Regions from separate parts of the Homo sapiens genome. Here all the other regions are linked to region 2. Evidence: promoter capture Hi-C in human tissues and cell types (Jung and others, 2019). All regions are on one chromosome and are shown on one strand. The core of a region is centred on a gene start or on the middle of the fragment in contact, and the rest is flanking DNA. Distances in the headings are between cores, read along the strand shown. Region 1 overlaps RELCH (RAB11 binding and LisH domain, coiled-coil and HEAT repeat containing). Region 2 holds the start of PHLPP1 (PH domain and leucine rich repeat protein phosphatase 1). Region 3 overlaps SERPINB5 (serpin family B member 5).

What was found. Contacts are between HindIII fragments. The study calls those that stand out against the background at their distance.
Region 1: a contact is called between a fragment that was not itself captured here and the fragment with the promoter of PHLPP1 in region 2, in 1 of the 25 tissues and cell types used here (dorsolateral prefrontal cortex).
Region 3: a contact is called between a fragment that was not itself captured here and the fragment with the promoter of PHLPP1 in region 2, in 1 of the 25 tissues and cell types used here (lymphoblastoid cells).

Annotation. Positions count from the first base shown.
Region 1 is chr18:62,199,732-62,203,722 of GRCh38, reverse strand. All of the region lies in intron 1 of RELCH (RAB11 binding and LisH domain, coiled-coil and HEAT repeat containing), which reads right to left. Among named protein-coding and RNA genes, the nearest start is that of RELCH, 14 kb to the right of the region's middle. The HindIII fragment of the contact is 3,113 bases long and covers 708-3,820 here.
Region 2 is chr18:62,713,433-62,717,127 of GRCh38, reverse strand. PHLPP1 (PH domain and leucine rich repeat protein phosphatase 1) reads right to left here and starts at 1,587. Exons shown (of 17, transcript NM_194449.4): 1 at 1-1,587. The coding sequence starts at 1,444. RefSeq lists silencers at 4-123, 224-323, 634-773, 984-1,213, 1,564-1,853 and enhancers at 204-1,166, 2,124-2,233, 2,324-2,383. The HindIII fragment of the contact is 18,418 bases long and covers 1-3,695 here.
Region 3 is chr18:63,480,935-63,485,099 of GRCh38, reverse strand. SERPINB5 (serpin family B member 5) reads right to left here. Exons shown (of 7, transcript NM_002639.5): 2 at 504-678. The coding sequence starts at 671. Among named protein-coding and RNA genes, the nearest start is that of SERPINB5, 6.1 kb to the right of the region's middle. The HindIII fragment of the contact is 3,293 bases long and covers 1-2,990 here.

The DNA of each region.
Region 1 (3,991 bases), core at 1,015-3,514, 510 kb after region 2:
ATATGTATTGTTTTTTAAAAATGAAGCTTATATAGTGAGAAATTGCAATATTATTAAGGCTACTGATAAAGTTGATTAAGGCTACTGCTAAATCGCTTTCCAAAATAAGTGTACATAGCAATCTGAATTCCAACAATAATATGTAACAGCATTTGTCAATGTTCAGTATTATTTTTAATCTTCACCAATTTAACATGCTATAAAATTATATTTTGTTTAATTATGTATCTCTTTGATTTCTAGTGAGCTTGGACATTCTTTTTTTTTGAGACAGAGTCTCACTCTGTCACCAGGGTGGAGTGCAGTGGCGCAATCTCGGCTCACTGCAACCTCCGCCTCCCAGGTTCAAGCCATTCTCCTGCCTCAGCCTCCCGAGTAGCTGGGACTACAGGCGCCCGCCACCACGCCCAGCTAATTTTTTGTATTTTTAGTAGAGATGGGGTTTCACCATGTTGGCCAGGATGGTCTCGATCTCTTGACCTCGTGATCTGCCTGCCTCGGCCTCCCAAAGTGCTGATATTACAGGTGTGAGCCACCATGTCCAGCTACATTCTTTCAAAAATATATTGACCATTTATTTTTGGGGTTTGTGTGTGAATTATCTATTCATGTCTTTTGATCTTGTATTTAATATCTAGATATTCCTGATATATTAGTTGATCTGGCCATTGCTGCCCTAAGCAGAAACTCCACTTGAGTACTATCTTCTCTTCTCTTAGGCCCATGTCGTGGCTCCTTATTAGCTACTCTGAAGTCTCTAACCTGCATAGGAAAACATGTACACTCAATGGTGAACTTTTATCAACCAATATTCTGGTGCTGTGATACCAGGCTTCATTGTTTTATTCCTGATTTTAATAGAATGTTAGGTATGGTGTTGGCTGTTAATTTCAGATAAATATTTCTTATTAGGTATCCATCTGTTATTAGTTTACTAAGTCTTTTTCATCTTCCTTCTAATATTTTAAATCATATATACAAGCCTAGATTAGAGCTACTTTGGTCATGAGACATTATTCTTCAATAACACCATTATTATTTCTCTAAAAGTTTTAAAGAACTCATTTATTCAACAGGGAGACTCTTGGGGGAAAGCAAACACACACTTTAATTTTCAACTTGGCATTATCATGGCCGTTGAAAAATATATTTTCTAATTTTTTCTAGTTCCAAGCCAACAACTTCATATTCTCCAGGAAAAAAAAGCTCTGATATCTTTTAATATAATAAATATGATGTCACAAAAGAAAAACAATCTCTCAATTCATTAAAATCTACTCCATCTTGTCAGAAAGAAAAATTATTTATGGAAGAAAGTAATTTTAACTTTGACTGGACTACCCTATATGTACTTTGGATTTTAAGACTAGTAACAGGTTATATTAAAGCTTCAAGGTAAATGTGCTTCTTTAGATTAAGCCACAATTCTTTTCCAGGAGAAGCAAATGCCTTTTGTTTTCCAAATGTCCTAATATACAAGAAGAGTTTGGGAAAATTAGCCTCTTTTATTAAGAATCTACCATATTCTAATATGAAGTATTTTAACTACAGAGCATTTCTTCAAATACCAGGATGCCTATTGTGTAACTTCTTAACAATTCACTTTATAACTCAGAAACAAATAATCAGGTACTTTCATCATAGTTGGTAAACTGGTAAAACCTGTTCATAAGTTTTATCAAGTCTGAGAACTAAACCTATTATACACAGTCGTGCAGATTGATGTTTTAAATCACATACAAAAGTAGTTTTATTTATATTTACATTTAATATTTTAGTACTGCTGAAAAATGTTTTTACTATAATTGAAAAACTTAGTCTCAGATCCTTGAAAACTACATGGCACTTTAAGAACCAAATGCATCAGAAAAACGGACCAGCTGTCGACTAATAAAAGAGTATTGGGTAATTTAAATATTTATTGAACAACTACTGTGAACTAGGTCACTGACAGGAATAGCAAAATAATTTTTTTAAAGGACATGGATATATAAGTCTAAGTAATCATGTTTATATATGCTTACATTTGCATTAATGTTTTTGTAAACATCCACAATACATTATTAATAATAACTGACTCTGAGAAGCAGAAGTACATTTTTCACTACATATTTCTCTTTGTATTATTTGAGCTTTTTGTTTTTACTTTTGGCATTTTCCCCCATAATTACATTTAATATATACTTTAATATGGGCACTTTATAATTTAAAAATCATGAAAGTATCCAATTCACAATTAAATGGAAAAAAAATCAAGCAATTCGCTTTATATTACAATTCTTTCAGTAAAGACGATTTATTCAACCATGCTTAAAAAAATCTGTCATGAGAAAGAAATTTATAATAATAAATTCAATAAATATAAAGATATTGCTAATAACAGACTTACTTTAAAAGTAATTCTATTTAAACCTGAGGTTGTGTGTAAACATTTTAAAATGTTATTCAAGGGCCGGGGGCGGTGGCTCACGCCTGTAATCCCAGCACTTTGGGAGGCCGAGGCAGGCGGATCACAAGGTCAGGAGATCGAGACCATCCTGGCTGAAACGGTGAAACTCCGTCTCTAATAAAAATACAAAAAATTAGCTGGGCATGGTGGCATGCGCCTGTAGACCCAGCTACTTGGGAGGCTGAGGCAGGAGAATCACTGGAACCTGGGAGGCGGAGGTTGCAGTAAGCCGAGATCGCGCCACTGCACTCCAGCCTGGGCAACAGAGCTAGTCTCAGTCTCAAAAAAAAAAAAAAAAAAAAAAAAAAAGCAAAGAAAAAACAGTTATTCACTTAAGGTGGGATCTCAGAGATGTATGTCAAAGAAAGAGAACCTATAAGGCTACTCTAAAATATGAAAGTTAAAAAAATAAGACTATAAATTTTCTACTTTGGAAATAATATAAAATTCATTCAATACTAATGAAAAGTTTCTTTTATGTGGGCACTGTATTTATAAACGTCAGAGTAAAACCACAAAGGTACTCTGCCTCCTCCCACTCAAGGTCAGTTCTGAAATTATTTGGAAGGCTTGGTATAGCAGTAACCTTGGTGATAAAGAAAGGAAAGATGTGAAACACTTTAGAATACACATGATACACCAGAATAGAAAGGCTAATTTCTGGATAGACCAGGATCTTGGTCTATCTCTCCATTAAAAAAAAAAAAAAAAGTTGGGGACAGCCTTTTACTTTTAGCAACTGCGGCACTCACATTTATATTTTCCTGATCCTCAATTCCTCTCCAAAGATGGGGCTAATTTTTCACTGACCTCTATGTCCAAAATATTTGAGAGCTAAAAGGAATTAAGACAGTACAATCCCCTCATTTTTACAGATGAGAGAACTGAAGCTATGTACTTATGCAGTATTTACTAAGCCATAGTGAGGAGTACAAAGATAAAACTTCGGTAAAACTTTGTCCTTGCCTTAAGGAAGCTTATGAATCATTGGAATTAAGTCATATACAGGGATAACAATAATACAATTGGCTTACTTTATCTTAAAGGTTAAAAAATTAATCTGTGAGCAAGCCAGAAGTAGAATTCAAGCCTCCCAGTTTGCAGCCCACTGTCTTTTTCTCTTTGTCACAGGGTTTCAGAAAGAGTGGAACTTCAAAGTCAAGATTTACACTTGGGAAGAAACTTACATGCTGAAACTTTATTGACAAGCTAGTCACTTAAAATTTCTATAATACAAGATGACTTTATCATATGAAAAGCTATTAGTAAAGAGAATGATTATTGTTAGTGATGACAACAATAGTAATTATTATTATTAACATTCTTTTTGACCACTTATTTTATGCCACATACTTTACACAGATAACCTTTCATAACAACCCTGTGCTAAAGGAGTCATTACCATCTGCATTTTACAGTAAAGGAAACAAAGACTATCCAGAGTCATGCAATGAGGGAGTGGCAGAATAGAAATATGAACTCAAGCTCTCCGACAGCAAAGCCTGAGCTCTAAACCATTGGTTCTCTTGAATAATATGTAAG
Region 2 (3,695 bases), core at 338-2,837:
GCCGGGTGGTCTCTCCGTGGAGCTGCACGTACAGGGTGGGCGGCGGGGGCGGCGGAGGCGCCTTCTCCGCGGTCACCCCGCTCCTCCCGGGGGTAGACTGGAGGCCTCCCGGGGCCACGGCTGCCGCTGCCTTCTCCTCGCACGACCCCTCGCGGACGGCCCCGCCCGGGCTGTCAATGGCCCTCGGGGCTTTCTGCTGCGGCTGAGGCGAGGAAGCCGTCTGGGGAAGCGGGAGGGGCTGCGCGGGGTGGCCGGGACGGCGGGGCTGGCCCGGGACCCCCGTCGGGGCCGAGGCTGCGTCGGCCTCGAGCTCTTCCGACGACGACGAGGAGCCGCCGCCGCTGCTGTAGGGGTCCAACCGGTCAGACACGCTCTCGGCGCTGGGACTCAGACTGAAGCTCTCGGTGTCGGAGACCACAGGCCGTGGGGCGCGGGGCGAAGAGACAGGGCCCCCAACGAACGGCTCGCCGGGGCTGGAGTCCGAGGGCGCTGGGCTGGCGCGGCGCGACCACCCGCCCGGGCCGCCGACGGGCAGGGGTAGGTCGGCGGGGGGCGCGCGCGGAGGCCCCCCGAAGGCACCCGGCGCGCTCCTCGCGGGCGGTACCTCCGAGTCCCGCGGCTCCGGGGGCGCCAGCCGGGGGCCGGCCTCGGGGGGCGGTTCAGCGGGCTCCCGGGCGGCGGCGGCTCCGGGCCCCTGGCCCAGCACCTTCACCACGCCGCCGCCTTTGTGGCCCAGCTGCAGCAGGCGGGCGGCCACCTCGCCGGCCGTGGTGTCCAGTGTGCAGAGCACCGGGCGCAGGTAGGTCGAGGCCATGTGGCGGTCGAAGACGTGCACGCAGCCGCGCTGGAGCTGGTGCCTCACCCAGTCCCGGTCCGACGGCTGCAGCTGCAGCGTCTGCCGGTGCTTCAGAAGCAGCGTCTTCCTGTCCAGGCTCCGGGTGCACAGCGACGCCGAGGCCGAGCAGGAGGCGGGGAGGCCGGCAGCGCCGGGGGAGTGCGAGGCAGCAGCGGCCGAGGACGACGACGACGAGGAGGCGGCCGCGGCGGCCGCGGACAGATTCCTCTTCAGCCGCCCTCTCCTCAGCAGGAGGGAGTTGGCGCCGCCGCCGGCCCCGGGTACGGGGGCAGCCCCGCCGGCAATGGGCTGGGGCGCCCCGCGCCGCCTCCTGCGCCCGGCACCCCCCGCTCTGCCCGGCAGCGGCCCCGGCGGCGCCTCGCCTGGGGCCTCTTCCCGCGCCCCGCTGCCGCTGCCGTTCCCGCCGCTCGGGGCCGCCGGGGTCAGCGCGGGCTCCGGACTCCGGCCGCCCCCGGCCGCCGCCGCCAGAGCCGCCGCGGCCGCCGCTGCTGCTGCTGCTGCCGCAGCGGCGGCCGCCGGAGCCGAAGCTCGGTCCTCCCTGCCGAGCTCGGGGAGTCGCTGTACCGTGGCCGCGGCGGCGGGCTCCATTGCAGTGGGGCTTCGCGTTTCCCCCCCAGCTCCGGAGGCAGCGGGCGGAGAGGGAGGCGATGAGGCGGAGGTGGGAGACGGCGGCGGCGCGCGGAGAAGGGAGAAGCCAATGGCGTTGTGCGCGGCCGTTCCAGGGGATTATGTGGCGATTCGGAGCATTCCGTCGGTGTCTCAGTGTTCCATCCCGCGCGCCCGCCTCGCCGCCACCGCCCCCCCGACACACGCCCTCCCCGCCCGGGTCGCGGGCTCCCCAGCGCCGGCCCCGCCCGCTACCCCCGCCTCAACCCGGCGAACCAGCCGCGGATCTGGGCTCATTGAATATTAATCATGCGCCGGGAGCGGGAAGGCGGGAGGCTGGCAGGGCGGGAGGGCCGCGTGTGCCTCATAAATATTCATCGCCGGCATGACGGCATTCCAGGGAGGAGTGGGGAGAGCCAGGGGATGGCCGGAGGCGGAGCTTCAGGGTAAACAAACGTGACGCGTGCGTACGAGGGCGGGGTGGGGGGCAGTTTCCCGGGAGGTTCCTGAGCCGGCCTCGGAGAGGGCAGTGAAGACCGACGCGCGCGGTAAACCTTGGGAGTTGTGGTTCTCGTAAGGGGATCGGCAATCCCGAGGGAAACATGGTGGACTACAAGTCCCAGCGGTCCTTTGGTTCTGCTTCTCCTGGCCGCCAGCAGCTGGCCGTGGCCAGTGAGTATTGTGCCCTCTGCCGTTGAACTCTGTGCCAGAGTTCTTAATGAACACGAATGCTCATGTTCATTAACTTGTATTTTACCCGCACTCCAGCTTGCCAGATGACTTTTATTTTCCCTACTAATTAAAGGTGAGGGCTTTCAGGGACTGTAAACGTACGAAGGTCGCAGGTCCTGGTCCTCACCTGCGCCCATTGTATGAGATAGAGATACACACCCGTCACACCACAGCATCACTGGCAGTCTGAGTGGGCCAACCTCACTTTTTCCCCACTTTTTCAAGACCCAGGAAGACAGGCAGCGTCTGGGAATTCTAACTGAGGCTGTCGTTGAATGTGCTTGTTCGAAGGCACAACCCTAAGTCTGTCCTCTCCCTCTCCTGTACCTGAAAAGGAAAATAGCAAAGGACTGAGGTTTCATTGTTTCCCATTGCTCTTGAAGTCTGAAGTAGTTTAATGACACAGAAAGCACTGGTAAGTAGAAGAAACATTAGAATGGAGTATGAGATGGGCTTTTTCCACGTGTTCTGTCTTAACGTCTTCTCTGGTTTTTTTCTTTCATCATTCAGGGAAAAAAAAAATAGTTTCTACTGCCACAATGTTTAGTCGTGGTCTGAAAAGTTGTATTTTTCGTCAGTTGAATCAATGTTGTAATCATTGGGCAGTTTACTATTTAAAAGAATGTTGTACACCTTTTTAATTGAATTACCATTCCCCCAATTGCTTTGTAATTCGGGATTTTTCTTTTCTTTTTTTCTTTCTTTTTTCTTTTTTTCTTTTTTTTTTTTTTTTTTTTGGCCACAGAGTGGGTCTGTCGTCCAGGCTGGAGTGCGGTAGCGCGATCTGGGCTCACTGCAACCTCCGCCTCTCGGGCCCAGGTGATTTTCCCACCTCATCCTCCGAGTAGCTGGGACTACAGGGCTTGCCACCAAGCCCGGCTCATTTTTTGTATTGTTTTAGTGGGGGTGGGAAGTCCCTTCATGCTGCCCCGGCAGGTCTCAAGCGATCTGCCCGCCTCAGCCTCCCAAAGTGCCGAGATTACAGTCGTGAGCCACCGCGCCAGGCCCTAAATCCGGATTTTCACATGTGAAACTTTTAAACAGTTTTAAACCACATACTATCTATGACCTGTTTTAACCTCAATAAAGTGACTAAACTTGCAGATGAAGAGTGAAGGGGGTTGGAGAGAGAGACCAACTGGAACTTACCGCTTAGGTTATCACAGTTTCATTGAACAAGAATGAAGAAGCTGTGGAGATAAAAATAAATATTTCTCAATGATTTTTTACATTCCTGATGATTTTCTGTATTTTCATTTAAAGTTTCACCCCTTAGCCTCATGAATCTATTAATAATATGTATTTTATTTAAATTCAATCAACAGCAACATATGAAAAATTAGGGAGATTGCAAGTTCTCCCAAGAGTGATAACATTTTCAAGTCAATTAATTTAACAGATAATTACAAACATTTATTATGTACCAGTCACCGTGTTATAGCAGTTGAATAAATCACACACTGTCCCTGCCTTCATAGAGTTTACAGGTTAGAAAGAATAA
Region 3 (4,165 bases), core at 95-2,594, 770 kb before region 2:
CCATCACAGCCTGGTGCCTGTCCCAGATGTGAGTTGCATTACCTACAAGCGAGCTTTCACATTTAAAAATAAATTAAGATGCCTGTAATCCCAGCATTTTGGGAGGCCGAGGCAGGCGGATCACCTGAAGTCAGGAGTTCGAGACCAGCCTGGCCACATGGTGAAACCCTGTCTCTACTAAAAATACAAAAATTTGCCTGGCGTTGTGGCACGCGCCTGTCATCCCAGCTACTCGGCAGGCTGAGGCACAACAATCGCTTGAACCTGGAGGCTGCAGTGAGCCAACATCGCACCACTGCACTCCAGCATGGGTGACAGAGTGGGACCCTGTCTCACAAAAAAAAAAAAAAAAAAAAAAGATTAAGAGAGTCCTGGAATGGCACAGTTCTGAATCTTGACCAATTCTGGCCACAAAGTCTACATTCCTTTTTTCCGTAGGCACTGCCTATGGGTTCTAATAACTGTATTCCCACTTAAAGTAGAAACAAGGTTTTGGGGCTTACCTGTCCAATTTCATTTGCAGTGTCACCTTTAGCACCCACTTGAGCAAGTGACAGAGAGGTGGAGAGACAGATTGGAGAGAAGAGGACATTGCCCAGTGGCTCCTTTTCACATAGTTGTTTGAACAGATCAACGGCAAAAGCCGAATTTGCTAGTTGCAGGGCATCCATTGCGGGCCTGGAAGCAAGGACAAGGGAGCAGTTAGTTTCTAAAGCATCTTTAACGTCTTCTCAACTGCATTCTGCCAACACTATAAGAATTCTATTTAAACAAAGTAATTGATCTCAGAAGAAACAAGGAACTTTCTGTAAATTCAAAAGTAAGATCAGTTGTGAAGAAACTTCCAGGCAAATGTCTGAAGGCATGTGAGGTCCTCTGTGTGTCCAGCTCTGCCTAGACTCTGCAGTCTTGGGCCTGCTCAGCCACAGTGGCCATTGTCGGGAGCCCAGTGGTCACATCTCTTCTCCAGCATATGTCAGAAAAGTTGACAGCACTAATCAACATCAGTTGGTTTTATTTATCACATATTGTTTCCATTAGGATTTCAGTTAAACTACAAAGTTAAAACTTTTATAAAACAAAAACAGTCGAATTGCAGCAGTTTTGCATTGTTCAGTTTAATATTTAGTAAGTGTAATGGGTTGAATTGTGTCCCCCAAAAAGATATGTTAAGTCCTAATCCCCATTACCTGTGAATGTGACCTTACGTGGAAACAGGGTATGTCCTATTTCTTAACTAATATATAATTAGTTAAGATGAAGTTACATTGGAGTTAGGTGAGCCCTAATCCGATATGACTGGTGTCCTTAAAGGAATAAGAGGAGAGACACAGAAACAGACATACACAGAGGGAAGATGTGAAGACACAAATGTCTTCACCTGTGTGAAGGGCATGCCGTATGGCAATGGAGGCAGAGATTGGAGGGATGCTTCCACAAGCCAAAGAATGCTAAGAACTGCTGGCAACACCAGAAACCAAGAGAAAGTCATGGAACATTCTCCCCTGGAGCCTTTTGAGACAGCATGACCCTGCCGACATCGTCATTTCAAAGTACTGGCCTCCAAGCCTGTGGGTGAATAAAGCTTCTGTTGCTTTAAGCTGCCTGGTTTGTGGTGCTTTGTGAGAAGTGCTAGAAAACCCTTAAAGTAACTAATGCCTTTGCAGGACACCCAGCACATAACAATACTTAATAAACAGCAGCGGTTATTGTTTGCGTTTATAATACGCATCTGTGTGTAAGACACTACCCAGAGTGTTACAAGGATCAGTGGACCTCCTCCTTCTCTAAGCTCATAGTCTCTTTGGGCAGATATGCAGACAAATAACTAGAATACAGAGCTGCCCAAGACATGTGAGTGGTATAATAAGTAATATGGGAGTTAAAGAAAAGAGGGAACAGTTTCAAAATATGTAGCCTGGTAAAGTGGATATAGCAGCAACTAGGCATCTTGTCACATCTCAGAGCTCTTTAATTTTAACACAGCAACTTCCAAAGTGTTGTGTCTTGACTCCTGGCAGTCCCTAACACCCTTTCAGGAGGTCCATGAGGTTAAAACTATTCTCATGATAATACTAAGACATTATCATTCTCAATCTCTAATAGACAGCGGAGTTTTCCAGAGGCTATATGACATCCCTTCTATTAAGCCAAATATTAAGGAGATTTGCAAAAATGAAAAACAATATCACTCTTCTCATTACATTTTTTCACTTTAGAAAATGTTTTTTAATATATATATTATTCATATTAGTATTTAATTATTATATTATTTTAATAAATTAGTAAATGAACATTTCAAAATGTGTCTGGTTTTCATTTCTAGTTTGGTAAATAGTGATAGATATAATCTACATTTTTTTTAAAGAAACAGTTCTTTGGGGTCCTCGGTAATTTTTAAGAGTGTAACAGGGTCCTCAGATTTAAAAAGCTTCACTGTTCTAATAAAGGTCTACCTACCTATTTAGTCTGGTAGTTACTGATCGACTCCAAAGACAATTAGGTAAATTCAGGCAGTCAGGGCTTCCCTTTCTGGGAGCAGAGCTGAACTACATGAACTCCTGAGGTTCTGCCTAAGCCAGGACAGCATGTTTCTAAGGGAAATGAATTGATATTACTACCCCGGGGTGAGCAGTACAGGGATTAAACTCGAAGTGTTCCCCCAAAGCCTCAGGCGCACACACACAGACACAAGGGCCGAATGTGACATTGAAGGTCTTCAGGTAGGACATGCACCCTGGCATTAGAAAGTAAGCTCCACTGCTTAAGATAGAGGACTCCCTTTGGCCAGTACCCAAACGTGTGTCAAGAGTCAAAGGCATGATGAATAGGATTGCAATTTGCACCTTATACCTGGACACAAATTCAGAATGCAAAGACGAGAATAAGATGGAGGAGAGGACTCCTGGTCTTTAAACATTTCTTCAGAATTCTCCCTTTTATGGGATATATGGCTTGTGTGTAGGATGGACTTAAATCGATTATATCTCAGAGTCTGAAAAAGCGAGTTCATTATCCAAAAATAATGTTTTATTGACTCTGTTCATGCTCACTGGTCATTTCCATGGGCTTCCTCCTTCTCCATATGTCCCTGATAAGTACAGCCATGCGCTCAGGCCAGTTCCCATTGCAAATATACCACGAGGCCCCCTGAAGTCAGGTGGGCCTCTCACTTTTCTTTAAAGCCCACAACCTTACTCCTTCTCCCCTCAGGGCAGGGGCAAGGGCCTACAGGTGACATCACACCCCAGGGAAAGGTGACTGGCATTAGGTGTATACTGAGGTCAGCAGGGTATACTGAGGCAAAAATGAAAGCCTGTTGAGTGTTTCACCCAGTGTGCCTGCCACTGGGAAAACATAAAGAAACTCTTCACAAAAGGTTTGGGGAATCTGTGGACAGACTTTCAGAATAGGAAACCTGGCTTCCTTCCACAGCACATTTAATATTAGTAATGCCAAGTTCATCTACAAGTAAAACTCAACATGTACAAGAAGTAATGAGTTATTTCTTCACCAAATAGAGAAGCCTAAACCCAGATCCCTGAAAGCTTCTTAACACTTCCACCAGTGGAGAGCTAATCGCACTGATAATAATATGAAAACACACAAACTGCTTTAACAAACACAAGTAGCTCCTCCAAGCACGTATTTATTATCCTCCAAGAGAAACTAGAATAATTTTGCATAGTCAATAACAAACTATACTTTTAGTGATTTCCTTTGTATAGAAAGATGGTGTTTAAGATCTTAATGTGCTGAGGGAGTTTGGCTGCAAACACCTACAAATGGATCTTAGGAGTGGATCAAATGGTGAGGAGATGTTCATTTTACCATTTTATTTCACTAAAGCATTATTCATTCACTTGTCACAACATTTTGAGATACATTTAGTCTAAATGATTGTGGATACAAGATCATTGTGGCTTTTAGTGTAGTTAATTACACAATACAATTAATGCTGTGTTGCAATTCAAGGCTTAGATCCAGGTCCCTGTTGGAGATGTAAATCAGTGCACATCTGACATCCTAACATCTCTGGGGCTTTCTCTCACCATTGGCGGACCTTCCCTTTGAGTGAGTCCCTTCCTTTGCATGCTAATCCTCAGTGCATGAACGCAAAGAGATCTGCCTTCCTGTTCCTATGCTGACTGGCTCCTTTCTCAGA